Regions from separate parts of the Homo sapiens genome. Here all the other regions are linked to region 2. Evidence: promoter capture Hi-C in human tissues and cell types (Jung and others, 2019). All regions are on one chromosome and are shown on one strand. Each heading gives the region's core, a stretch centred on a gene start or on the middle of the fragment in contact. The rest is flanking DNA. Distances are from core to core; before and after follow the strand shown. Region 1 overlaps ACOT4 (acyl-CoA thioesterase 4). Region 2 holds the start of ACOT1 (acyl-CoA thioesterase 1). Region 3 overlaps HEATR4 (HEAT repeat containing 4). Region 4 has its middle 15 kb from the start of NUMB.

Region 1 (6,613 bases), core at 2,856-5,355, 62 kb after region 2:
TTTATTTATTTATTTATTTATTTATTTATTTATCTTTTGAGACGGAGTCTCGCTTTGTCACCCAAGCTGGAGCGCAGTGGCGCAATCTCGGCTCACTGCAACCTCCGCCTCCTGGGCTCAAGCAATTCTCCTGCCTCAGCCTCCCAGGTAACTGGGATTAGAGGCGTGCGCCACCACACTCGGCTAATTTTTTTTTGTATTTTTAATAGAGACAGGGTTCTGCCATGTTGGCCAGGCTGGTCTCAAACTCCTGACCTCAAGTGATCCGCCCGCCTCCGCCTCGCAGAGTGTTGGGATTACAGGCATGAGCCACCGCACCCAATCTGGATAAGTTATTGACTCAACTCTCCTCTCTTCTTTTCTTCCAGGTAAAAGGCCCAGGCATTGGGCTTTTGGGCATTTCTCTAGGAGCTGATATTTGTCTCTCAATGGCCTCATTCTTGAAGAATGTCTCAGCCACAGTTTCCATCAATGGATCTGGGATCAGTGGGAACACAGCCATCAACTATAAGCACAGTAGCATTCCACCATTGGGCTATGACCTGAGGAGAATCAAGGTAGCTTTCTCAGGCCTCGTGGACATTGTGGATATAAGGAATGCTCTCGTAGGAGGGTACAAGAACCCCAGCATGATTCCAATAGAGAAGGCCCAGGGGCCCATCCTGCTCATTGTTGGTCAGGATGACCATAACTGGAGAAGTGAGTTGTATGCCCAAACAGTCTCTGAACGGTTACAGGCCCATGGAAAGGAAAAACCCCAGATCATCTGTTACCCTGGGACTGGGCATTACATCGAGCCTCCTTACTTCCCCCTGTGCCCAGCTTCCCTTCACAGATTACTGAACAAACATGTTATATGGGGTGGGGAGCCCAGGGCTCATTCTAAGGCCCAGGAAGATGCCTGGAAGCAAATTCTAGCCTTCTTCTGCAAACACCTGGGAGGTACCCAGAAAACAGCTGTCCCTAAATTGTAATGCATTTGTCTGTTGTTGACATGAGAGATTCAAGATCAGATTCTAGTGTTCAGTAACCCTATGTGAATCAGATGTCTCCTGGATAACATTAAAGCCATGTCTTTGTCATTAATGGTGTATTTTACGTAACTTTGTTGAATAAGCTTTGTCGTTAGTTTTACTAATGTAACTTGCTTGTTGTAGAAGATTAAGAGGCATATGACACATATAAGTGAAAAACATTCCCACCAGTTAACATTTGTGTTTCCTTCTAGATTTTTTTAGTTAATGTTTTGAGTCACAGGTGAGCTTTAAAGCTGGTGACTTTTTCCATCACTATGAAAGAATGGTCACTTAATGTTTGCTGTTCAACCATCAGTAGCAGGGTAGAATTTTCTTTGGCCAGAAACATACAGAGGGGTGTTAATATGAGGAAAGGCAGCTGACCTTTTCATTATAAACGTGAGAGAAGACTCTTTTGACAGGAGGAGATGAGACCTGTCTCTAGAATAGTTAAGTCTGTACTCTCTTCCAAGGGTGAATTACTACGATCTATTTTCCCTCTCACTTCCTCTCTAAGAGCAGACCCTGGGGCCGAGTACAGTGGCTCACACCTGTAATCCCAGTACTTTGGGAAGTCAAGGGGGGCATATTGCTTGAGCTCAGGATTTCATGACCAGCTTAGGCAACATGGCAAAACCCAATCCCTACAAAAATTAGCCAAACATGGTACACACCTGTAGTCCCAGCTACTCGAGACTCAGATGGGACGATTGCTTGAGCCCGGGAGGTCAAGATTGGTGCAGTGAGCCGTGATTGCACCACTGCACTCCAGCCCAGGTAACACAGCGAGACCCCGTTTCAAAAGAAAAAAAAAGAATAGAACTTGGAAAATCGTACTGTGGTAACCCTAGAGGAATCACTCCTTTGTCTCCTTGACATTGACACTACATAGCATTTATTATTATTATTATTATTATTTTTTGAGACAGAGTCACTCTGTTGCCCAGGCTGGAGTGCAGTGGCATGATCTCAGCTCACTGCAACCTCTGCCTCCTGGGTTCAAGCGATTCTCCTGCCTCAGCCTCCCGAGTAGCTGGGATTACAGGCATGTGCCACCATGCCCGGCTAATTTTTGTATTTTTAGTAGAGACAGGGTTTCACTATGTTGGCCAGGCTGGTCTTGAACTCCTGATGTCAAGTGATCCACCTGCCTCGGTCTCCCAAATTGCTGGGATTACAGGCATGAGCCACCGCGCCCAGCTTACATAGCATTTATTAATATAAGCGTATTTGAAAAGATAATGGCTGAGAAATTTCCAAAACTGATGTCAAAGACATCAAGCCACATATTCAAGAAGAATTGTAAATGCCAGGCAGAATAAATACAAAGAAAAACTACGCTTATCACAGTAAAACTGTTTATGGTAATTTTATTTTATTTATTTATTTATTTATTTATTTTTTTGAGATAGAGTCTGGCTCTGTCACCCAGGCTGGAGTGCAATGGCGCAATCTCAGCTCACTGCAAGCTCCGCCTCCCAGGTTCATGCCATTCTCCCTGCCTCAGCCTCCCAAGTAGCTGGGACTACAGGTGCCCGCCACCACGCCTGGCTAATTTTTTGTATTTTTAGTAGAGACAGGGTTTCGCCATGTTAGCCAGGATGGTCTCGATCTCCTGACCTCGTGATCCACCCGCCTCGGCCTCCCAAAGTGCTGGGATTACAGGCGTGAGCCACCATGCCCGGCCATTATTTATTTATTTATTTGAGACAGAGTCTTGCTGTGTTGGCCAGGCTGGGGTGCAGTGGCACGATCTCAGCTCACTGCAACCTCTGTCTCCCGGGTTCAAGTGATCCTCCTGCCTCAGCCTCCCAAGTAGCTCAGACTATAGGCATGTGCCAGCACGCCCAGCTAATTTTTGTATTTCTTTTTCTTTTTTTTTCTTTTTTCTTTTCTTTTTTTTTTTTTTTTTTTTGAGAAGGAGTCTTGCTCTGTAGCCCAGGCTGGAGTGCAATAGCACAATCTCGGCTCACCACAACCTCTGCCTCCCAGGTTCAAGCAATTCTTCTGCCTCAGCCTCTCGAGTAGCTGGGACTACAGGTACCTGCCACCATGCCTGGCTAATTTTTGTATTTTTAGTAGAGACAGGGTTTTACCATATTGGCCAGGCTGGTCTCAAATCCCTGACCTTGTGATCCATCTGCCTCGGCTTCCCAAAGTGCTGGGATTACAGGCATTAGCCACCGCGCCTGGCCTTTTATTTCTTTTGTAGAGATGGGGTTTCGCCATATTGGCCAGGCTGGTCTTTAACTCCTGACCTCAAGTGATCCACCTGCCTCAGCCTCCCAAAGTACTGGGATTACAGGTGTGAGCCACTGCACCAGGCTTGTTTATGGTAATTTTAAAACATAGCTGTAAATTCATTGGCATTTCCCTCATCAAAAGATGGGAGACCTGCCGGGTGCAGTGGCTCATGCCTGTAATCCCAGCACTTTGGGAGGCCGAGGTGGGCGGATCATGAGGTCAGGAGATCAAGACCATCCTGGTTAACATGGTGAAACCCCGTCTCTACTAAAAATACAAAAAAAAAAAAAAAAAAAAAACATAGCCGGGTGTGGTGGCAGGCGCCTGTAGTCCCAGCTACTTGGGAGGCCGAGGCAGGAGAATGGTGTGAACCCGGGAGGCAGAACTTGCAGTGAGCCGAGATCATGCCACTGCACTCCAGCCTGGGCGACAGAGCAAGACTCCGTCTCAAAAAAAAAAAAAAAAGAGAGAGATGGGAGACCTATGTCCCCTTCCTTCAAATCTGGATGAACTTGTGACTGTTTCAGTCACTAGAGTAGAGCGGCAGTGACTTTGCAGGCGAGGTCATAGAACGCCGTGAGGATTCTACCGTGTTTGCCAGGAACACCTGCCTTTGGAGCTTGAGCCACTATGTAAGAAGTTTGGGACAGGCGCTGTGGCTCATGCCTGTAATCCCAGCACTTTGAGAGGCTGAGGCAGGCAGATCACCTGAGGTCTAGAGTTTGAGACCAGCCTGATCAACATGGTGAAACCCCATCTCTACTAAAAATACAAAAATTAGGCCAGGCATTGTGGCTTACACCTGTAATCCCAGCACTTCGAGAGGCCAAAGCAGGCGGATCACCTGAGGTCGGGAGTTCGAGACCAGCCTAACCAACATGGTGAAACCCCATCTCTACTAAAAATACAAAAAAGTAGCCAGGTGTGGTGTTGGGTGCCTGTAATCTCAGCTACTCAGGAGGCTGAGGCAGGAGAATCTCCCAAACCTGAGAGGCAGAGGTTGCAATGAGTCAAGATCACACCACTGCACTCCAGCCTGGGCAACACAGCGAGACTGTCTCAAAAAAAAAACAAAAAGAAGTTTGACTACCTTGAGGATGTGATGCTGTGATGCTGTGATGAAGCTTAAAATACATGTATAAGCCAACCACAGGCACTCCTGTGACAGTCCCAACTGTGGTCAGCGTCTCAGTTATCTCAGCCCAAGTGCCAGACATGTGAGTGAAAAACACCTCCAGATCATCCTAGCCCCCAGCCATTTAAATCTCGGTGGAGACTTCACATAACCTCCACTGAGCAGTGATGTCCCTCTCAAGCCCTGTCCAAACTGCAGATTTGTGAGCAAAATAGATTGTTTTTGTTTTATGTGACTATGTTTTCAGGTGTGTTTCAGTTATCTATTGTTGTGTAGCAAACCACCCTAAAACAGCAGCTTAAAACACTAACCATGTATTTTTCTCAAGAGTCTGCAAATGGGACAGGACTGGGTAGGAATGGATCACCACTGTTCGAAGTGACACGGGCTGCGGTAATTTGACTGAGGGGTTGAAACTCAGCCCAAGTAATTAGCAAGAAGGCCCAGATGGAGAGAAATTGAGAACCCCCTAAATCATATCCCTTCCTGAGTTCCCAATTGACAGCCAGCACCAACCTCCCTGCCATAAAAGTAGAGTCTCCAAGAGAGCCTAGCAAGCCTAGCAAGCAATTCTGCATGACCTTTGTTCAGCTTTGTCTTGGAAGCTATTATACATACTATCACTCTCCCATGCTCTATTGAACAAGGCAGTCAAAGGCTAACCAAAGTTCAAGGAGAGCATAGTCTGCCTCTTGAAAGGAGAGTGGCAAGGTTCTGGAGAAGAGCATGTGGAATGGGAAATAATTGTAACCATCTTTGGCAAATACAGTCTGCCTTCTGGCCATACATTCCTCCACATGTAAAATAACACCCATTCCTCTTCTATACCCTCTCCCCCAAAAATCTCATTTCATTATAGCATCGCACTCAGGCTGAAGGTCCAATATTTCATCATCTATATCAGATCCAGGTATAGATGAGGCTCAGAACAGTCCCTTGGGTATAGCTCCTTGAATATCCTTCTTCTCAATCTGAACGGCTTTGAAACAAACAAGTTAGCTATCCTCACAGATGCATGTCCATAATACAATGGTGGGAGAAGTATAAGATAACTCCTATAGACAGTCCTGTTCAAAAATGGGGAAAATGTGGCACACAGCTGTCACTAGCCTGTAGCAACTCTGAAACACACCGGAGAACACGCTGCCAATTCCTTCATTAGTGTTCAATTTACTCTCTGTGAGTTGTTCTCTGTAGCTTTTGGTTCTACCTCCTGAGTTGAAACCTTTATTTTCCATAAGAAAATGAGTTAGCAATTAAATTTAACCTGCCTCCTAGATGGAAAAGGGGAGTTCAAAGTTCTCTTTTAATTTTGTATTCTCTGCCTTTTAAGTTCCAGCTCATAGTGGAACTGGAATTATTCTTCAGCCAGAACAATTTTCTTTTTTTTTCCAAGACGGAGTTTTGCTCTTGTTTCCCAGGCTGGAGTGCAATGGCGTGATCTCAGCTCACTACAACTTCTGCCTCTTGGGTTCAAGCAATTCTCCTGCCTCAGCCTCCCAAGTAGCTGGGATTACAGGCACCCACCACCACACCCGGCTAATTTGTTATGTTTAGTAGAGACAGGGTTTCACCATGTCGGCCAATCTGGTCTCAAACTCCTGACCTCAGGTGATCCACCTGCCTAGGCCTCCTAAAATGCTGGGATTACAGGCATGAGCCACCACGCCCAGCCAGCCAGAACAATTTTCTTAAAAACTTTGTGGGGTTTTCTAAAAATCTCAGTGGGTTTCACTCCACTAGACAAAATACACCTCTAGATATCTGTTTAAGAACTTCTCGGCCAGGCGTGCTGGCTCACGCCTGTAGTCCCAGCACTTTGAGAGGCCAAGGCGGGCGGATCACCTGAGAGGTCAGGAGTTCGAGACCAGCCCGGCCAACATGGCGAAACCCCATCTCTACTAAAAATACAAAAATTAGCCAGGTGTGGTGGTGCGTGCCTGTAATCCCAGCTACTCAGGAGGCTGAGGCAGGAGAATTGCTTGAACCCAGGAGATGGAAATTGCAGTAAGCCGAGATTGTACCACTGCACTCCAGCCTGGATGACAGAGTGAGACTCTGTCTCCAAAAAAAAGAAAATGACAATTAAATGAAATATTTTTGTAAGTGTTTAAATGACCCATCAGGTAAATGTACCTGAAGCTTTGACTGTCTTCCCAAAAATATGGATTTGACAAACCAAACATTGGTTATAAACTACTTTAGCAGGTCAGTGTGG
Region 2 (6,317 bases), core at 12-2,511:
TGAGCCACCTCACCCAACTTCCACTTCCCAGCTGTATGATCTTCAGAAAATCAGTTAAATTCTCTGGGCCTTAATTTACTACTACGGTTCTTGTAAGTATTAACAATTAGCTACTATTATTTACCTTCTTTAGTTCCTGAGACTTCTATGCACAGAATATACTTGATGTGTGCCACAGAACCTATACAAAGGTAATTACAACTAACAGGGAGTTGTATGATAATGACATGGGACATGGGACATGAGAGCATTTGGAAAGAGATAAAAAGGCTTACCTTGAGGACAGCCTTATTAGGAGCAGAGGCAAACACAGGTTTTGTGAGTTTGAAGCTTACGCATTTATAGGTTTCTCTAATTACCAAGATAGGAAATTATGAAATCAGGTACAAGGGCTTGGGAGGGGCCTAAAGCTTAAGTTTGATGAAAAAAAAAAACCACCTCTGGTTGGAACCAATAGCCTATGAAAAAGTAGAAAAAAGCCCAATGCATGGGGAGCGCCGGTAGTCCCTTGAGGTGTTTGAGAGGCTGAGGCAGGAAGATGGCTTTAGCCCAGGAGTTTGAGGCTTGTAAGTGCGCAGTGATGGTAAACCGCCGCTGTACTCCAGACTGGCAACGTAGTGAGACCCTGTCTCTTTAAAAAAAAAAAAAAAAAAAAAAAAAGATGAGAGGTAACACTTGCCTGACTGGGACAAAAATGAGAAACCAGTATAAGAAAATAATAACTATTGGCCGGGCGCGGTGGCTCATCGCCTGTAAATCCCAGCACTTTGGGAGGCCGAGGCGGGCGGATCACAAAGTCAGGAGTTCGAGAAATTAATAACTATTACCTCATTTGGCTATTTTTACACCTGTAAGGAATAAAGCTCAGAGGTCACACAGCTAGTAAGAAGCCAGCACCCTTCGATGTGGGAGTGATGTGGAGGATAGGCATATACAGAGAACACGAAAGCAAAACACCATGGTGCAGATTTTGAAAGAAAAGCCCTAAGATTAGTAATGAGTGTGAATTATTCAACAAAGTGATCAAAACCAACTCCAGTCCTGCATTCCTCTTCGCCATCAGGAGTTTGGAGCCTGGAGACTGCTAGCTGCCTGGTTGTTGTTGTTTTTTTTTTTTTCTGAGACGGACTTTCGCTCTGTCGCCCAGGCTGTAGTGCAGTGGCATGATCTTGGCCAACTGCAAGCTCCACCCCCCGGGATCACGCCATTCTCCTGCCTCAGCCTCCCGAGTAGCCGGGACGAACCAGTCCTGGCCCAGCCCATTCCGCGAGCCAGCAAGCTTCTGAAAAGCAAACCTAGGAAGTTGCTTTCCAACATAAAGTGGAGGTTTCAACACAGGAGACTTTAAGCAAGTTCCAGTGTGTCTATATTTGGTCTGGCTGATCGGCTGGACTCTGGCCTTCCCCGCTCACATTAGCAGACAGCTCTGCCCTAGTGGGCGTTTAGCCTGCGACGGCAGCCCGAGAGGAAGAGTTGGGCAGAGTTGCAGGGGTCTCCACAGCTGAGGCAGTTTGGCCGGATTATTTGGGTTCCTGCTCGGATGGCGGCGACGCTGATCCTGGAGCCCGCGGGCCGCTGCTGCTGGGACGAACCGGTGCGAATCGCCGTGCGCGGCCTAGCCCCGGAGCAGCCGGTCACGCTGCGCGCGTCCCTGCGCGACGAGAAGGGCGCGCTTTTCCAGGCCCACGCGCGCTACCGCGCCGACACCCTTGGCGAGCTGGACCTGGAGCGCGCGCCCGCGCTGGGCGGCAGCTTCGCGGGGCTTGAGCCCATGGGGCTGCTCTGGGCCTTGGAGCCCGAGAAACCCTTGGTGCGGCTGGTGAAGCGCGACGTGCGAACGCCCTTGGCCGTGGAGCTGGAGGTGCTGGATGGCCACGACCCCGACCCCGGGCGGCTGCTGTGCCGGGTGCGGCACGAGCGCTACTTCCTCCCGCCCGGGGTGCGGCGCGAGCCGGTGCGCGCGGGCCGGGTGCGAGGCACGCTCTTCCTGCCGCCAGGTGACTCACCTCCGCTAATTGTTCCCCTCTGCCCATCCCTGTTCCTGCGCTTTCCACTGTGTGTGTGTGTGTGTCCCCTTCGCCCCGCCCCGCTCTTTTCGCTTGTGTGTGTGTCCCTCCTCCCGCCCCACCACCACCACCCCGGGCTATGTTGCCCAGGTAGGTCTTGAACTCCTGGACCCAAGCTATCCTCCCGCCTCTGCCTCCCCAAGAGCTAGGATTGCAGGGTGAGCCACTGCGCCCGGCCCTTTGAGGGGAGTTACACTTATTTTTTTATTTTTATTTTTTTTCGTCCCTGCGCTTTTCATACGGAGAAAGGATGTAGCTTCCAACATTCCGGAGGTTAGTGTAAGGAGACAGGAATGGAATGGAAAGTTGGTTGGGGAATTGCCCCTGCCGCTCCAAAACTGAGAGGTCCCTCAAACCTAGTGCTCAGTTAAAAGACATTGTAAGGGCTGGGCGCGCTGGCTCACGCCTGTAATCCCAGCACTTTGAGAAGCCGAGGCGGGCGGATCACGACGTCAGGAGATCAAGGCCATCCTGGCTAACACGGTGAAAACTCGTCTCTACTAAAAATACAAAAAATTAGCCGGGCGTGGTAGCGGGCGCCTGTCGTCCCAGCTACTCGGGACGCTGAGGCAGAAGAATGGCATGAACCCAGGAGGCGGAGTTTGCAGTGAGCCAAGATCGTGCCACGCACTCCAGCCTGGGCAATAGAGTGAGACTCCGTCTCAAAAAAAAAAAAAAAAAAAGGCATTGTAAGGAAAGAGAAAAGACACATAATATTAAAAACAAACAAAACAAAACAAAAAAAACAGGCCGGACGCGGTGGCTAACACCTGTAATCCTAGCACTTTGGGAGGCCGAGGCAGGCGGATCAAGAGTTCGAGACCAGCCTGGCCAACATGGTGAAACCCCGTCTCTACTAAAAATACAAAAATTAGCCAGGTGAGGTGGTGCACACCTGTAGTCCCACCTACTCGGGAGTCTGAGGCAGGAGAATCGCTGGAACCCTGGAGGCAGAGGTTGCAGTGAGCCGAGATCACGCCATTGTACTCCAGCCTGGGGGACAAGAGTGAAACTCCATCTAAAACAAAAACAAAAACAAAAAACAAACAACAACAACAAAAAATTTTCAAGTAGTTTCAATGTTCTTATTTATGTATGGACCAGGAAGTCACTTTTTTTTTTAATAAAAAGAATTCCAACTGGTTTTCTCACTGTATTTCCATGGCAGCTAGGAGGTGCCAGGTGGCTGGGCCTGTGACAGTGCAGAGGTTTTGGTGCCTGCCCGCCCACCATTGCTCCAGCTGCAGCTGCTGCCCCCTGCAGGGCCTGTTCGTTCCTGCTGCCTAGCTCCCTGCTGGCTGGCTATGATCTCCGTCCTGTTACCATTCCAGGAGAGCAGCCACCTCCCTGTGCATGGCAGGACCAGGTACTGATTGTGGCCTCTCCTCTTGGCCTCGAATGGTATCCTTGTCATCAGTGAGCAAGTCCCCAAAGACCACGGTCTTGTCCATTGTCAGGATAATTCACTCCACAAGCTGGGACTCCAGGTGCTGCTCTACCCAGCGGTGCTTCTCACCCACACAGTGGTCATACTTTGGCAGGGGCTGGTGCAGTGTGAAGACCTCGGTGTTTTGCATGTGCTTCATCTCTTGCAAGGCCCTCTGGGGTTGGGCTTCAAGACTAGGGAAAAGCCTAGGGCTTCACACCCATGGGCCACTTTATCCACCAGGTCCGGCAGCAGGGTGAGGTACTGCTTCCAGACCAGGAAGCTGCGGTGCTGCTGCAGTGTCACATGCAGCTCCCTGAGAAGCGGCGGCTGAAGCCCCACAGGATGCCGTCTGGAAGCTGCCAGCACGCGGTCCCTGTCCATCAGCACACGCGTGGGCTGTGCTCATCGCTGCCGGGGCACTGGGGTTTCTCGGGATCCTAGGGGTATGGGGCCCAGAAATGTTCTTTAAAAGTTTCTCATTTTTGCAACTTTTCTTTCAATTCACACAGTATGTTAAGGTTTATGTAAATTAGCATTTACAATAGGAAAGCCTCTTCCTGTCAAATGGAAATTTGAGGTTACTGGATACTTTTATATTACATAAAGAGCAATCAGCCAGTGTAGAAATGATGCTTATCCTTATTAATAATCAAAGAAATGCAAAATAAAACAACAGAGTACATTTCACACCCTCAGAAGTGGCCCACTTTTAGAAGCTAGCATTATCAATTGCTGACCAGTATGTGGAGGAAATGAAACTCACTGCTAGAAGGAGTCAACATATTCATCTGCTCTGGGCAACAATTTGTCTTAACTTACAAAGTTAAATATGTTATTCTACTTGTACATGTGCACCAGGAGGCATATTCCTTATAAGAGGAAAGCCATTGCAGATGAGCAGTCTGGATTAATTTAAAAAAAGAGCAAAGTCAACTGGAAACAGTCCAAATGTCCATCAACAATAGAACAGATTAATAAATTGAGGTATATTTCCAGCAGTCAAAGTGATTGAACTACAGCTAGAAGAATCAACATCTATCAAGATATACAAAAGAAAAGAAAAAAATAAAAAAGAATCAACATGGATGAATCTCCAAACCACTGTTGAGTGAAACAGTCAAACACTAGGAGAACACATTCAGTATCATTCCATTTAGATACAGTTCAAAAAATAGGCAAAATAAAATATTGTTTAAGGTACATAATCTAAGTGGTAATACTATGAAGAAAACCAAGAGTGATACACAGAAAGTCCAGGATACTGGAAAGAGAGGAAAGGGCACAGGGGTCTGTGGGACGTTGATGGTTTGCGGGTATCAGCACTGAACTATGTCTTAAAAGTGTTGCCTGTAAGGTGTTTGCATTCTTTTTTTTTTTTTTTTTTTGAGACAGTGTCTCGCTCTTTCGCCCAGGCTGGAGTAGTGGCACAATCTTGGCTCACTGCAACCTCCAACTCCCGGGTTCAAGCGATTCTCCTCCCTCAGCCTCCCGAGTAGCTGGGATTACAGGTGGCCGCCACCACACCCAGCTAATTTTTGTATTTTTAGTACAGATGGGGTTTCACCATGTTGGCCAGGCTGGTCTCGAACTCCTGACCTCAGGTGATCCACCCGTCTCAGCCTCCCAAAGTGCTGGGATTACAGGCGTGAGCCACCAGACCCAGCCTGCATTATTATTCTTTAATTTTGTGTGAAACACAAAACCTTTAATGTAAATGATAAAAATATTCAGTAAGTGGAGTCATTCAGAATGAGTAGCCTTTTGAGTCTGTCTCCATTGAATAAGTGCATTCTGTTGAGTGCACTGGAGAGGAATTTGTGCTCTTCTATGTAGCAGTCTTTCTTTTTGTTTCTTGGTGGTGCACCATTAAATGGATTCATTCACCAGTTAAAGGACATTTGGGTTGTTTCCAGTCTTTGGCTACAATGAATAAAGTCACTATAAACACTTGCCAGAAGTTTCTGGACGAACACAGGTTTTCATTTCTCGTGGGTAGATACCTAGGAGTGGGATTGCTGGGTCACATGTGTGGTAAGTATATGTTTAACTTGGTAAGAAACCATCCAACTGTTTCAGGAATAGCTTAGTTTTGCATTTTGTTTTGTTTCTTCCCAAGAACCTGGGCCCTTTCCTGGCATTGTGGACATGTTCGGAACTGGAGGTGGCCTGCTGGAGTATCGGGCTAGTCTGCTGGCTGGGAAGGGTTTTGCTGTGATGGCTCTGGCTTACTATAACTATGAAGACCTCCCCAAGACCATGGAGACGCTCCATCTGGAGTACTTTGAAGAAGCTGTGAACTACTTGCTCAGTCATCCTGAGGTGAGTTCTTCTCTCAGATTTATGGGCTATGATGTATCAGGTCTCTTCTTAAATGGTCTGGGTTTTCACAGAAGTTAGCTCATTCATGACAGCCATTCCCTACCCCAACACACACTACCTTTTTTAGTCACTTCTTATAGACAGTTTCTTTCTTTCTTCTTCTTCTTCTTTCTTTTTTTGAGATGGAGTCTCACTCTGTTGCCAGGCTGGAGTCCAGTGGTGCGATCTTGGCTCACTGCAACCTCCACCTCCCAAGTTCAAGTGATTCTTGTGCCCCAGCCTCCCAAGTAGCTGGGATTACAGGCACCTGCCAACATGCCTGGATAATTTTTGTATTTTCAGTAGAGACGGGGTTTCACAATATTTGTCAGGCTGGTCTTGAATTCCTGACCTCAAATGATCCACCTGCCTTGGCCTCCCCAGGTGCTGGATTACAGGCATGAGCCACTATGCCTAGCCTAATTTTTGTATTTTTTTTTTTTAGTAGAGATGGGGTTTCGCCA
Region 3 (6,576 bases), core at 578-3,077, 39 kb before region 2:
ATGTACATGTTTGAGGAGGACAGGGTCTGAGGAACTCTTGAGAGTCCTGAATTTTCTCTTGAGAACAGAGCTTGCACTTATTTACCCTGTTCTTGATCTCCTGAAGCATTTCTTGGTTTCCTTCATTTCCTAAGTTGAGTATCTTCATTGTCTGGTACATTTCTCTGAAAGATAAGAAGGGCTTCTTAGATTATTCTACCCTGCCCTTTAAAAAAGTATGGGGGTAGAAAATATAGGACTTGGAATCAGGTAAGAATCCCAAGTTCCAATCCTAACTGTGCAGTTTTGCTGAGCCTTATATGCAAAAATGGTATAATGCTTAGCTTACAGGAATAATGTGCAGTTTTTGAGACAATATATTTGTGGGTTTTTTGTTTACTTTTTGTTTTTGCGAGATGGAGTCTTGCTCTGTTTCCCAGAGCTGGAGTGCAATGGCACGATCTCGTCTCGGCTCACTGCAACCTCCACCTCCCAGGTTCAAGCGATTCTCCTGCCTCAGCCTCCTGAGTTGCTGGGACTACAGGCGCGTGCCATCATGCCCAGCTAGTTTTTGTATTTTTAGTAGAGATGGGGTTTCACCATGTTGGCCAGGCTGGTCTAGAACTCCTGACCTCAGGTGATCCACCCGCCTTGGCCTCCCAAAGTGTTGGGGCTACAGGTGTGAGCCACTGCACCCGGCCATGCCCGTCTAATTTTTGTATTTTTAGTAGAGACAGGTTTCACCATGTTGGCCAGGCTGGTCTAGAACTCCTGACCTCAGGTGATCCATCTGCCTCAGCCTCCCAAAGTGTTGGGATTACAGATGTGAGCCACCTCATCTGGCCAAGACAATATATTTGAAGGTGCCAATAGGTACCATTTACTGAACACCTTTATGACAGGCGCTAAACATGTCATCTCATTAATTATCACCACAACCCTATAATGTAGACTATCACCTGCATTTGATACATGAAAAAAATGGGCTCACAGAGTTTAAATACCTTACACGGGCTCACATAGCTATTGCATGCCAGAGCTGGAATTCAAACCCTGGTCTTTTTGACTCTAAAACTTGTTGTCCCAATAGGCATTTGATAAATGTTAGTTGAATATATGAATAACTTAAAACCCATCCTTTTTTTTTTTGAGACGGAGTTTTGCTCTTGTTGCCCAGGCTGGAGTGCAATGGCACCATCTCGGCTCACCGCAACCTCCACTTCCCAGGTTCAAGTGATTCTCCTGCCTCAGCCTCCCTAGTAGCTGGGATTACAGGCATGTGCCACCATGCCTGGCTAATTTTGTATTTTTAGTAGAGACAGGGTTTCTCCATTTTGGTCAGGCTGGTCTCAAACTCCCGACCTCAGGTGATCCTCCTGCCTCAGCCTCCCAAAGTGCTGGGATTACAGGCGTGAGTCATCACACCCGGCCAAAACCCATCCTGGTGGGGAGAAAAGATGCATGAACTACATAAGCTTGACTTTCAATCTAATTTAGGCCAGTTTTTCAGTTACCTACTTGGGTGAGTGGTGAATGTGCAGGTGAACCAGTGCTTTTACTGCCATTAGGTAGCCTGGAAAGGCAGGGACATATTCAATGAGCAAAGATGTGAGAGTTGGCAGTATAAGGTCATGGTGGGAGCCAGAGGTTTAGTGCTTACTTTAGAACAGCATCGTGGTTCTCCAGGAGCAGCACGTCTAGGAAGGTGTCCCTGACCCGGTCCCCTTGAAGTTTCAGGGCTAGGATGCTACGGCAAGCTTCCAGCCGTACACCTGGTGACTCTTCATAGTGGATAGCCCAGAGCAGAAGATCCGTCAGCTCGGGACTTACTTGCCCAATCTGTCCCAAAGCTGCAGAGATTAGAGGGCAGCATGTCACTGAAGACTGAGCTTACTATATTCTAGCATCCAGAAATAAATTGAGTTTTGCAAACAATACCTTCCCTTTTGGATGGTAATCACCATTAGAATTTTAGGGATAGGTCAGAATGGGACATTACCTCCAAAGGATTCCTAGAAGAGGGATGTTCCATCCCATCCTTGCCTGTTAGGATATTTGCCTATTTTGGGATGAAATATAGAACAAATAACATGGAAGACCTGCCTAGTCCCAGCAGGGTGATGGGGAAAGGAGGCACAATTATTTATCTATGTCAAAAAGAGAAGCAATGCCAAAGATTCTAAAAAGAAACTAGGCAGATTAAGGGGCAGGGTTTTAGGTCTGTAGCAGTCTTGAAACTGATCTGACTTTTGCAGAGCGTAATAGTTGAGATCTCCAAGGAAAGCAAGATGCATCCAGCACTGGATACCTACTTGGAACTTATCCTTAATTCTGTTGGCAGGGACTGTCTTGTCAGCCCTTTCTTTAACTTAAGTTTGACATATACCTAGACTCAGGATCTTTCACTAAAAATTGAAGAAAATTATCTTTCTCTTTTCAGACAAGGAACTTCTGAAAAGCTAAGATCATTACCTCTCCTGCACTTCACCCCATTAGAGAGTTTCAGGGGATCATTTCTACTTGCATAGGCAAAGGTATTTAAGGTTGAAGAGTTTGGGGCACTACTTCTATAATACCTCGAATGGCAAAGGCCTTGATTTTCCAGTAAGGATCTCTCTGCATCAGGTTCAGGAGGCATTCAAGCACCTGGGATGGAAAAGGCAGTGTTGAGTGGGGAGGACCAGAGCAAGAATGAACCAGAAACAGCTGGGTGCGGTGGTGCACCCCTGTAATCCCAGCATTTTGGGATGCCAAGGTGGGCGGATCACTTGACATCAGGAGTTTGAGACCAGCCTGGCCAACATGGTGAAACCCTGTCTCTACTAAAAATACAAAAATTAGCCGGGCATGGTGTCACACGCCTGTAATCCCAGCTACTCGGAGGCTGAGGTAGGAGAATTGCTTGGACCTGGGAGGCGGAGGTTGTAGTGAGCTGAGATCGTGCCACTGTACTCCAGCCTGGGTGACAGAGCGAGTCTCCATCTCAAAAAAGCAAAAAAACAAAACAAAGCAAAAGAATGAATCAGAAACAGGGAAACCACTTATCTCTAAAAGGAGCTATAATTGAAAAATGACCTATCAATTCTGGTGACAAATGAGCTGGAGCCTAAAGTACCAACCTATATGCATAGTGAGTACATTAGCTGAATTATCTGCTATTGATTTTCTCAGTCTACAGATCTGGGGCCATATGGCTTCTCTTGAACACTTCAAACAGATTTTTCCCTAATAATGGAATTATAACTCCATTTATGGGAGTTGATCCTAAAGCCCATCAGCACCCAGGTAATGAGAAGCTAGTTAACTGAGGTGAGAACAGGATTCAGGGGTGTGCTCTAGAATCGAAGTCTGGGCTGGCTGGGAGCTAAACCAAGCTTGTCCAACATGTGGCCTAGGACAACTTGGAATGCGGCCCAACACAAATTTGTAAACTTTCTTAAAACATGAGATTTATGCCAGGCGCGGTGGCTCACGCCTGTAATCCCAGCACTTTGGGAGGCCGAGGCGGGCGGATCACGAAGTCAGGACATCGAGACCATCCTGGCTAACACGGTGAAACCCCATCTTTACTAAAAACACAAAAAAATTAGCCAGGTGTGGTGGCAGGTGCCTGTAGTCCCAGCTACACAGGAGGCTGAGGCAGGAGAATGGCGTGAACCTGGGAGGCGGAGCTTGCAGTGAGCCGAGATGGCGCCACTGCACTCCAGCTTGGGTCACAGAGCGAGACTCCGTCTCAAAACAAACAAACAAACAAACAAAAAAACCATGAGAATTATGCACGGACCTTTTTTTTTTTTTTTTAGCTCATCAACTATCGTTAGTGTTAGTGTACTTTATATGTGGCCCAAGACAATTCTTCCATTGTGGCCCAGGGAAGCCAAAAGATTGGATGCCCCTGAAACAGTCCTGTTTGAAGTGGCTTATACACCCCCTTCCCAGTTCCAATCTCTCATTCTGTGTCCCCACAGAATGTTGAGCATACTGTGCACAACCAGGGAAGGTAATGCCCTCTTCAGGTCAATCAGGTAAGATGAGAATATGTTTCCCTGACTCACCATCTTGTCGCGGATCTGCAGGGCACCAGCTGCCAAACAGGCTGCCCGCCGAACTGCTGTGAAGTCATCAGAGAAGCAGTGCAGGAAGCTTGGGAGAAGCTTGGCGGTCATAAGCTTGAGCTCACCTATCAGGTAGAGAGCTTCCACACGCTCCTGGGAATTTCCTTGACCTAGCTTGACCCTGTAAGGCACAAGTTGCTTTCCTTTCACCTCCTTAAACTTTCAGTACCTAACCCCCAACCCCCACTAATGCCCTCATGATAAAATCCGGGTTCTGTAGGCTGTCAATCCCATTCAGCCTTATGCTCATGAGATAAGTTTTACTGGGTACAGAGCTCGATTGTCTTCTTTACTTGAATCCCTAATACATAGCTGTTCAGTAATTAGGTAATGCAGGGCTTTCAGTTACACTGAATGACTGAATAAAGGAAAATGTCAACTTGCACCTCTTTTCACAGTCAAGTTCTCTTCTCCATTGCCCTCACGTGTGCCATGATTATGTCTGCATTTGGCTTCCAGCCTGGAATGCCTATGCAGTCTTTTTGTTTGTTTGTTTAAATTATTTTTATTTATTTTATTATTTTTTTGAGATGGAGTCTCGCTCTGTTGCCCAGGCTGGAGTGCAGTGGCTGGATCTTGGCTTACTGCAAGCGCCGCCTCCTGGGTTCACGCCATTCTCCTGCCTCAGCCTCCTGAGTAGTTGGGACTATAGGCGCCCACCACCACGCCTGGCTAATTTTGTTTTTCTTGTATTTTTAGTAGAGATGGGGTTTCACTATGTTAGCCAGGATGGTCTTGATCTCCTGACCTCGTGATCTGCCCGCCTCGGCCTCCCAAAGTGCTGGGATTACAGGCATGAGCCACCGCGCCCGGCCTTAAATTATTTTTAGAGATGGGGTCTTGCTATGTTGCCCAGGCTGGTCTTGAACTCCTGACCTCAAGTGATTCTCCTGCCTCAGCCTGAGTAGCTGGGATTATAGGCACTTACCCACTCTGCGGCTCCTATGCAGTCTCTCTCTCTTTTTTTTTTTTTTTTTTTTTTGAGATAGGGTCTTTCTCTGTTGCCCAGGCTGGAATGCAGTGGCATGATGATGGCTCATGACAGCTTTGGACTTCCTGGACCCAGGCAGTCCTCTTGCCTCAGCCTCCCAAGTAGCTGGGACTACAGGCATACACCACCACACTGGCTAACTTTTTATTTTATTTTATTATTATTATTTTTGAGACGGAGTCTCACTCTGTCGCCCAGGCTGGAGTACAGTGGCGTGATCTCCGCTCACTGCAAGCTCCAACTCCCAGGTTCACGCCATTCTCCTGCCTCAGCCTCCCGAATAGCTGGGACTACAGGCGCCCGCCACCACGCCCTTTTGTATTTTTAGTAGAGACAGGGTTTCACCATGTTAGTCAGGATGGTCTCGATCTCCTGACCTTGTGATCCACCCGCCTCGGCCTCCCAAAGTGCTGGGATTACAGGAGTGAGCCACTGCGCCCGGCCAATTTTTTTTTTTTTTTTTTTTAATTTTTAGTAGAGGCAAGGTCTTGCTATGTTGCCCAGGCTGGTCTCGAACTCCTGGGCTCAATTGATCCTCCTGCTTCAGAGTCTCAAAGTATTGGGATTACAGGCGTGTGCCACTGGGCTGGGCCTCCTGTGCAGTCTTATCCACCCTCTGTGAAACTTGGCCTTACTCCTCTAGCCACGCTGAGTATTCCATTTTTCTGCTCCAGCAGTTATGGTATATGCCATTTGTTCTAGTTTTTAATGATTTGGTATTTTTAATTAGGTGTTTGTATATTTTGCATGTGGTCATCAGAATTGCGTCATACTTTTGAACACCCTCCAGCACCGAAACCATTGCCTCACACCTACTGGGCACTCAATGCTTCTTTCCCTAGCCACATTGTTAGTTTGTAGGGACTGTTAATTTTTTACAGTGGGACCTGGTCCAGGGTCCGTACAGAGGAGCTCAACAAATGCTGGGTGGCTGGATCCCAGGCCTCCTAAGCACTTTTTTTTTTTGAGACGGAGTCTTGCTCTGTTGCCAGGCTGGAGTGCAGTGGCGCGATCTCTGCTCACTGCAACCTCCGCCTCCCAGGTTCAAGCGATTCTCCTGTCTCAGCCTCCCGAGTAGCTGGGATGACAGGCATGTGCCACCACGCCTGGCTAATTTTTTGTATTTTTAGTAAAGACAGGGTTTTACTGTGTTAGCCAGGATGGTCTCGATCTCCTGACCTCGTGATCCGCCCACCCCGTCTTCCCAAAGTGTTGGGAGCCACCTTGCCCAGCCTGCCTCCTAAACACTTCTAAGAATTTAGAAGAGTGTCTCCTCATGTTGACTGGGTCTTACCTGATTATGTCGTGCACCTCTTTCCCGAGGCTCATTTGCCCAAGCGCCTGTGCAGCTGCTCTCCTCACTTCCTTATTCCAGTCATTCCACATCAGCTGGATCAACTTATGTTTCATATCCTATAAATAGGTATGATCATTAGGTATCATCACTTAATGAATGTTAATTTTGTGCTTGGCGTTGTGCTGTTTTTTCTT
Region 4 (6,576 bases), core at 4,027-6,526, 62 kb before region 2:
CTTTTTTCTTTTCTTCTCTTTTTTTTTTTTTTTTGAGATGGAATCTCTCTTTGTTCCCCAGGCTGGAGTGCAATGGCATGATCTCGGCTCACTGCAGTCTCCACCTCCTGGGTTCAAGCGATTTTCCTGCCTCAGCCTCCTGAGTAGCTGAGATTACAGGCAGGCACCACCACGCCCAGCTAATTTTTGTACTTTTAGCAGAAATGGGGTTTCCCCATATTGACCAGGCTGGTCTCGAACTCCTGACCTCAAGTGATCCACCCACCTCAGGCTCCCATATTGCTGGGATTATAGGCATGAGCCGCCGCGCCTAGGCAGATGCAGGCTTCTTTACATATTTCTGTCACGGCTCTTTTTGCACAATGTTTAACACAGTACTAGGAATTCGTTTATTCAGTAAACATTTATTGATTAAAAATTAGTTACATACCCAATGCCAATAGTTTGTTGCTGAGGATATAAATAATTAAATAAGGCAGTGATAAAACAGACCAGATGTGATCTCTAGCTTCTTAGTTACCTAATAAGCTCTCAAAAATATTCTTTTATCATAGTGGCTGGATACAGTGTAAAACTCTACCTAAGGGTCATCCTACCCTCTTAGGAACACAACATTTAAGTTCTTTCGAAGACCGAGCTACCCTGGGGCCAAGAACAACTATAAAAAAAGTGCCTACCTTTTCTTCTCAAATGTACCTACAAGTGAAGGTTAAAAATGAACTTCTGGCTGGGCACGTTGGCTCACGCCAGTAATCCCAGCACTTTGGGAGGCCAAGGCAGGCAGATCCTGAGGTCAGGAGTTCAAGACCGGCCTGAGCAACATGGAGGAAACCCCCGTCTCTACTAAAAATACAAAATTAGCCGGGCGTGCTGGTGCATGCCTGTAATCCTAGCTACTCAGGAGGCTGAGGCAGGAGAATCGCTTGAACCCAGGAGGCAGAGGTTGCAGTGAGCCAAGATTGCGCCATTGCACTCCAGCCTGGGCAACAAGATCGAAACTCTGTCTCAAGAAAAAAAAAAAAAGAACATCTGGAGAATGAGAACTATGCTATATTCATCTTTGAATTTCCAGTACCAGGTACAGTACCTTGCACATAGTAAGTGTTCAGTGTTTTAAATTTTTTTTTTTTTTTTTTGGAGACAGAGTCCCACTCTGTCACAGGCTGGAGTGCAGTGGCGCGATCTCAGCTCACTGCAACTTCTGCCTCCCAGGTTCAAGCAATTCTCTTGCCTCAGCCTCCCGAGTAGCTGGGGCTACAGGCATCTGCCACCACACCCGGCTAATTTTTTGTATTTTAGTAGAGATGGGGTTTCACCATGTTGCCCAGGCTGGTCTCAAACTTCTGATCTCAGGCAATCCACCTGCCTCGGCCTCCCAAAGTGCTAGGATTACAGGCGTGAGCCACCGCGCCTGGCCCAGTGTTTTTAAATTTTAATTAATTAATTAATTTTGAGACAGGGTCTGGCTCTGTCACCCACGCTGGAGTGCAGTGGCCCCATCTCGGCTCACTGTAACCTCTGCCTCCTGAGCTCAAGTGATCCTCCCACCTCAGCCTCTGAGTAGCTGGGACTGCAGGCATGTGCCATCATGCCTGGCTAATTTTTGTATTTTTTTTTTTTTTTGGTAGAGATGGAGTCTCACTATGTTGCCTAGGCTGGTCTTGATCCTCCCACCTCGGCCTCCCAAAGTGAAGTAATTGCAGGCATGAGCCACCGCACCCAGCCTGTTCAGTGTTTTTGAATGAGTGAATGAATGAATGAAGCTGGAATCCCAGTTCTGCCACTAACTGTGTATCTTTGTACAAGTCACAGATTATTTGTAACCCTTTTTTCATGACTGGGATAACAACTACCTTGCTTATTTGTTGTTATGTGACTGGAGGTCATGTGTTCTAAGAATCACTGGCAGCTGGGCATGGTGGCCTGTAATCCCAACATTTTGGGAGGCTGAGATGGGAGGATCACTTGAGCCCACAAGTTTGAGACCAGCCTGGGAAACAGAGGGAGACCTCATCTCCACAAAAAAATTAAAAACTAGCTGGGTGCGGTGAGCGCGTGCCTATAGTCCCAGCTACTGGGAAGGCTGAGGAAAGAGGATCATTTTTGAGCCCAGGAAGTCAAGCCTACAGTGAGCCATGATTGCACCACTGCACTCCAACCTGGGCGACAGAGTGAGACCCTGTCTCAAAAAAAAAAGAAAGAAAATTGGCACTCTGCCTGGCATTCAGCAGGTGCTCAACAAATGGTTGTGGTGATGCTGTATGGTTGTTACTCTGAGAACGGAGAAGCAGAAGCTTCCAAGAACCAACTTGTATGGTCAAAGTGACATCTAGTGGTAAAATTTTAGAACACACACCAAAAGCACAGTCAATTGCTGGTTTGAAATTTAAATTGAGGAATGACTAGGAACTAACAGGGCACCTGATTTACATAAGTACAGTAACATTATTTAATTCTCACCAGTGATTTTTTTTTTTTTTTGAAACGGAGTCTCACTCTATCGTCCAGGCTGGAGTACAGTGGCGCGATCTTGGCTCACTGCAACCTCCGCCTCCCAGGTTCAAGCAATTCTCCTGCCTCAGCCTCCCATGTAGCTGGGACTACAGATGCTGGCCACCACGCACGGCTAATTTTTGTATTTTTAGTAGAGATGGGGGTTTCACCATGTTGATCAGGCTGGTCTCGAACTCCCGACCTTAGGTGATCCTCCTGCCTCAGCCTCCCAAAGTTCTAGGATTACAGGCGTGAGCGACCGCACCTGGCTTCACGAGTGATTTTCAATCCTGGATGCAGATTAGAATGACGTGTGAAGCTTTAAAAATCTACTGGTGTCTGGATCTCACCCTTGGAGACACCAATTTAACTTGCAGGAGGTGTGACTCAGGCTGTCACATTTTTAAACTGCGATTTTAACATGCAGCCTGGTTGGGAACCACATGCAAGAGACCCATGAGATAGTCTTCTTCTCGTTTTACAAATGATGAAAGTAAAAGTCAGAAGGATAAAGTAATTTTCACAAAGTCACACATTTATTATTAGCAGTAGGTTATTTGAACTTGCATCTACCATTTTCCCACAATACCACGTTGCTTTGCAGAGGCTTTTGGAAGTCTGATGTGCTCCACTTAGCTTCTGTCTAGGGGAGTCTCAAACTCAGAAGCGTTAGGAAATTGCATGGTGCTGTGAGCTGAAGCCCTCCAAACAACAGTTTGGTGTTGATGGGATAGTGTGGTCTAATGAAGGCACTAACTGCCTGATCCTCTCTCTGGATTCTTTTTTTTTAAGACAAGGTCTTGCTTTGTTGCCTAGGCTGGAATGCCGTGGCATGATCACAGCTCACTACAGCCTTGAACTCCTGGGCTCAGCTGGGACCAGAGGTGCATGCCACCATGCCCAGCTATCTTTGTATTTTTTGTAGAGATGGGGTTTTGCCATGTTGCTCAGGCTGGTATTTTTATGTTTTGTAGAGACGGGGGTCTCCCTATGTTGCTATGAACATTCATGTCAATTTCAATTTTTTAAAAATTATTTCAAAAGAAACTCATTGTAATTGTTTGTGTTAAAAAATGATAACTTGCCCAGGTGCAGTGGCTCATGCCTGTAATCTCAGCACTTTGGGAGGCCAAGGCGAGTGGATCACTTGAGGTCAGGAGTTTGAGACCAGCCTGACCAACATGGCAAAACCCCGTCTACACTAAAAATACAAAAATTAGCTGGGCATGGTGGTGGGTACCTGTAATCCCAGCTACTCAGGAGGCTAAGGCAGGAGAATGGCTTGAACCTGGGAGGTGGAGGTTGCAGTGAGCCAAGACTGTGCCACTGTACTCCAGCCTGGGCGACACAAGACTCTGTCTCAAAAACAAACAAACAAAAACCTTAAGCATACACATTAAAAATCTACCAAAACTTTTTAAAATTGAGTTTTGGCACTTCATTTTTAAAAATATAACTGGGGTCTCAAAAAGGAGTAACGAGGCCGGGCGCGATGGCTCACGCCTATAATCCCAGCACCATGGGAGGCCGAGGCCGGCAGATCATGAGGTCAGGAGATTGACACCATCCTGGCTAACACGTTGAAACCCCGTCTCTACTACAAAAATACAAAAAATTAGCCGAGCTTGGTGGCGGGCCCCTGTAGTCCCAGCTACTCGGGAGGCTGAGGCAGGAGAATGGCGTGAACCCGGGAGGCGGAGTTTGCAGTGAGCCGAGATCGTGCCACTGCACTCCAGCCTGGGCAACAAAGACTCCGTCTCAAAAAAAAAAAAAAAAAAAAAAAAGAGTAACCAGCTTGCTCTTGACCTCTGAAAGGCTCTGTTGCTGCCTCCAACAAGAAAAGCCCATTTTATCCAATTAGACAACAAATCCCCAAAGTCAGAAAAACCACGTGATATTTGCTGGCATATCCATGATGACTACTAATTATGTATTTGGTAAATGTTTGCTGACAATATAGCCCATCAAGAAATGATGGGAGGCCGGGCGAGGTGGCTCACGCCTGTAATCCCAGCACTTTGGGAGGCCGAGGCGGGCGGATCACGAGGTCAGGAGATCGAGACCATCCTGGCTAACACAGTGAAACCCCGTCTCTGCTAAAAACACAAAAAAATTAGCTGAGCGCGGTGGCAGGCGCCTGTAGTCCCAGCTATTCGGGAGGCTCAGGCAGGAGAATGGCGTGAACCCGGGAGGCGGAGCTTGCAGTGAGCCGACATCGCGCCACTGCACTCCAGCCTGGGCGACAGAGCCAGACTCCGGCTCAAAAAAAAAAAAAAAAAAAAAAGATGGGAAGGCTGGGTGCGGGTGGCTCATGCCTGTAATCCCAGCACTTTGGGAGGCTGAGGCAGGTGGATCACTTGAGGCCAGGAGTTTGAGACCAGCTTGGCTAACATGGTGAAACCCTGTCTTTACTAAAAAAATATTAATATTAGCCGGGTGTGGTGGCTCACACAGGTAATCCCAGCTACTCAGGAGGCTGAGGCGCGAGAATCACTTGAAAACCAGAGGTGGAGGTTGTAGTGAGCCAAGGTCATAACACTGCACTCCAGTCTGGATGAAAGAGCGAGAAACTCTGTCCCTTAAAAAAAAAGAAAACAAAGAAATGATGGGACAGGGTGAGGGTAGGGGAGAGGAAATTCTAACACAGGTGATTTCCTTCTGACCCACAACCCCCACTTTGCTGTTGGTCTGGCTGACGTGGTTCACAAGGGGGATGGTAACTTAGATGGAACGTGTAAACCAATGGAAACATGAACCTTGATTGAAAAATGAAAAATTTCTCTAGATCCTGACTAAGGCAAGGTCAGCATGTTTCTCCCACATGCTGGTCCAAACAGAAGCTTTCTTTTACGGCAGGATAGGGATCAGTCCCTTGTCTAATCAACCAGTGGAGTTAATGAGTATGGCAGAAGGAAGGGAGAGGAAAGATGACAAAAGGAGCAATGAAAAGGAAACACCTGACACATTTATCTTTGTGAGAAGTGAGAATCACCTGTAAATGCCTCAGCCAGGAAGGACAGGTAGGGCCCTTTATAAAAGGATTTGTGGAACTTCTGGAGTATTTTGTCATTATAACATTTTGTTAATAGATTAACAAGGCTGGGCGCAGTAGCTCACACCTATAATCCTAGCACTTTGGGAGGCCAAGGCAGGCGGATTCACTTGAGGTCAGGAGTTCGAAACCAGCTTGGCCATCATGGTGAAACCCCGTCTCTACTAAAATTACAAAAAATTAGCTGGGCATGTGGTATGCGCCTGTAATCCCAGCTACTCAGGAGGCTGGGGCGGAGAATCTCTTGAACCTGAGAGGCGGAGGTTGCAGTGAGCCGAGATCATGCCACCCCGACTCCAGCCTGGACAACAGAGCGAGACTCCATCTCAAAAAAAAAAAAAAAAAAAAGATTAACAAAAACATGGCTGGGCACAGTGGCTCAAGCCTGTAATCCCAGCACTTTAGGAGGGCAGATCATTTGAGCCCAGGAGTTTGGGACTGGCCTAGGCAGCATAGCGAGACCCCATCTCTACAAAAAATATAAAAATTAGCCAGGCGTTGTGGTGCATGCCTGTGGTCCCAGCTACTGAGGAGGCTGAGGTGGGAGAGTCACTTGAGCCCAGAAGGTTGAGGTTGCAGTGAGCCAAGATCTTACCACCACACTTCAGCATGGGCAACAGAGTGAGACCCCGTCTCAAAAACAACAACAACAACAACAACAAACACAAAACACAAAGAAACAAAACCGTGATAGTAAGGAGAGCAGATGCCTGCTTTTCTGTTGTGAAGAAACTTGGGAACCACTGTGGAAACAGGAGAGGGGAAAGGAGCTGTCATGGACCCTTGCTGAGCTCCTTCCTTCCCCCAGCCTTTTCTCCCATCCCTCCCCTTACCTGGAAGGTCCTCTCTCCTCCTCTCTGCCTAAATCTTGTGCCATCTCAGATCCAACACAAATTCCCATGTCTCCATGACGACTCCTGCCCCCCTTCCCTGAACTCCTACAGCACATCTGCTGTATACCACACAATTCTCACTAAATTAAGCATATTGTCTTTGAAAGGTTCTTGTGTGTCTGTCTTCTAAAACCCCTT

What was found. The method cuts DNA at HindIII sites, captures the fragments that hold promoters and counts their contacts. A contact is called where the count stands out against the background at its distance.
Region 1: a fragment that was not itself captured here is called in contact with the fragment with the promoter of ACOT1 in region 2 in 1 of the 25 tissues and cell types used here (dorsolateral prefrontal cortex).
Region 3: a contact is called between a fragment that was not itself captured here and the fragment with the promoter of ACOT1 in region 2, in 2 of the 25 tissues and cell types used here (dorsolateral prefrontal cortex and mesenchymal stem cells).
Region 4: a fragment that was not itself captured here is called in contact with the fragment with the promoter of ACOT1 in region 2 in 2 of the 25 tissues and cell types used here (H1 embryonic stem cells and liver).

What each region holds. Positions count from the first base shown.
Region 1 is chr14:73,594,681-73,601,293 of GRCh38, forward strand. ACOT4 (acyl-CoA thioesterase 4) reads left to right here. Exons shown (of 3, transcript NM_152331.4): 3 at 369-1,086. The coding sequence ends at 974. It also overlaps a transcript of HEATR4 not described here. Among named protein-coding and RNA genes, the nearest start is that of ACOT4, 6.1 kb to the left of the region's middle. The HindIII fragment of the contact is 2,710 bases long and covers 2,751-5,460 here.
Region 2 is chr14:73,535,882-73,542,198 of GRCh38, forward strand. It overlaps ACOT1 (acyl-CoA thioesterase 1), which reads left to right and starts at 1,262. Exons shown (of 3, transcript NM_001037161.2): 1 at 1,262-1,997; 2 at 5,612-5,814. The coding sequence starts at 1,541. All of the region lies in intron 1 of HEATR4 (HEAT repeat containing 4), which reads right to left. It also overlaps the pseudogene NT5CP2. The HindIII fragment of the contact is 14,338 bases long and covers 1-6,317 here.
Region 3 is chr14:73,496,516-73,503,091 of GRCh38, forward strand. HEATR4 (HEAT repeat containing 4) reads right to left here. Exons shown (of 18, transcript NM_001220484.1): 11 at 6,380-6,498; 12 at 4,035-4,215; 13 at 2,556-2,625; 14 at 1,640-1,829; 15 at 86-164. It also overlaps a transcript of ACOT1 not described here. Among named protein-coding and RNA genes, the nearest start is that of RIOX1, 8.9 kb to the left of the region's middle. The HindIII fragment of the contact is 3,819 bases long and covers 1-3,737 here.
Region 4 is chr14:73,469,959-73,476,534 of GRCh38, forward strand. No RefSeq gene overlaps it. Among named protein-coding and RNA genes, the nearest start is that of NUMB, 15 kb to the left of the region's middle. The HindIII fragment of the contact is 5,447 bases long and covers 2,554-6,576 here.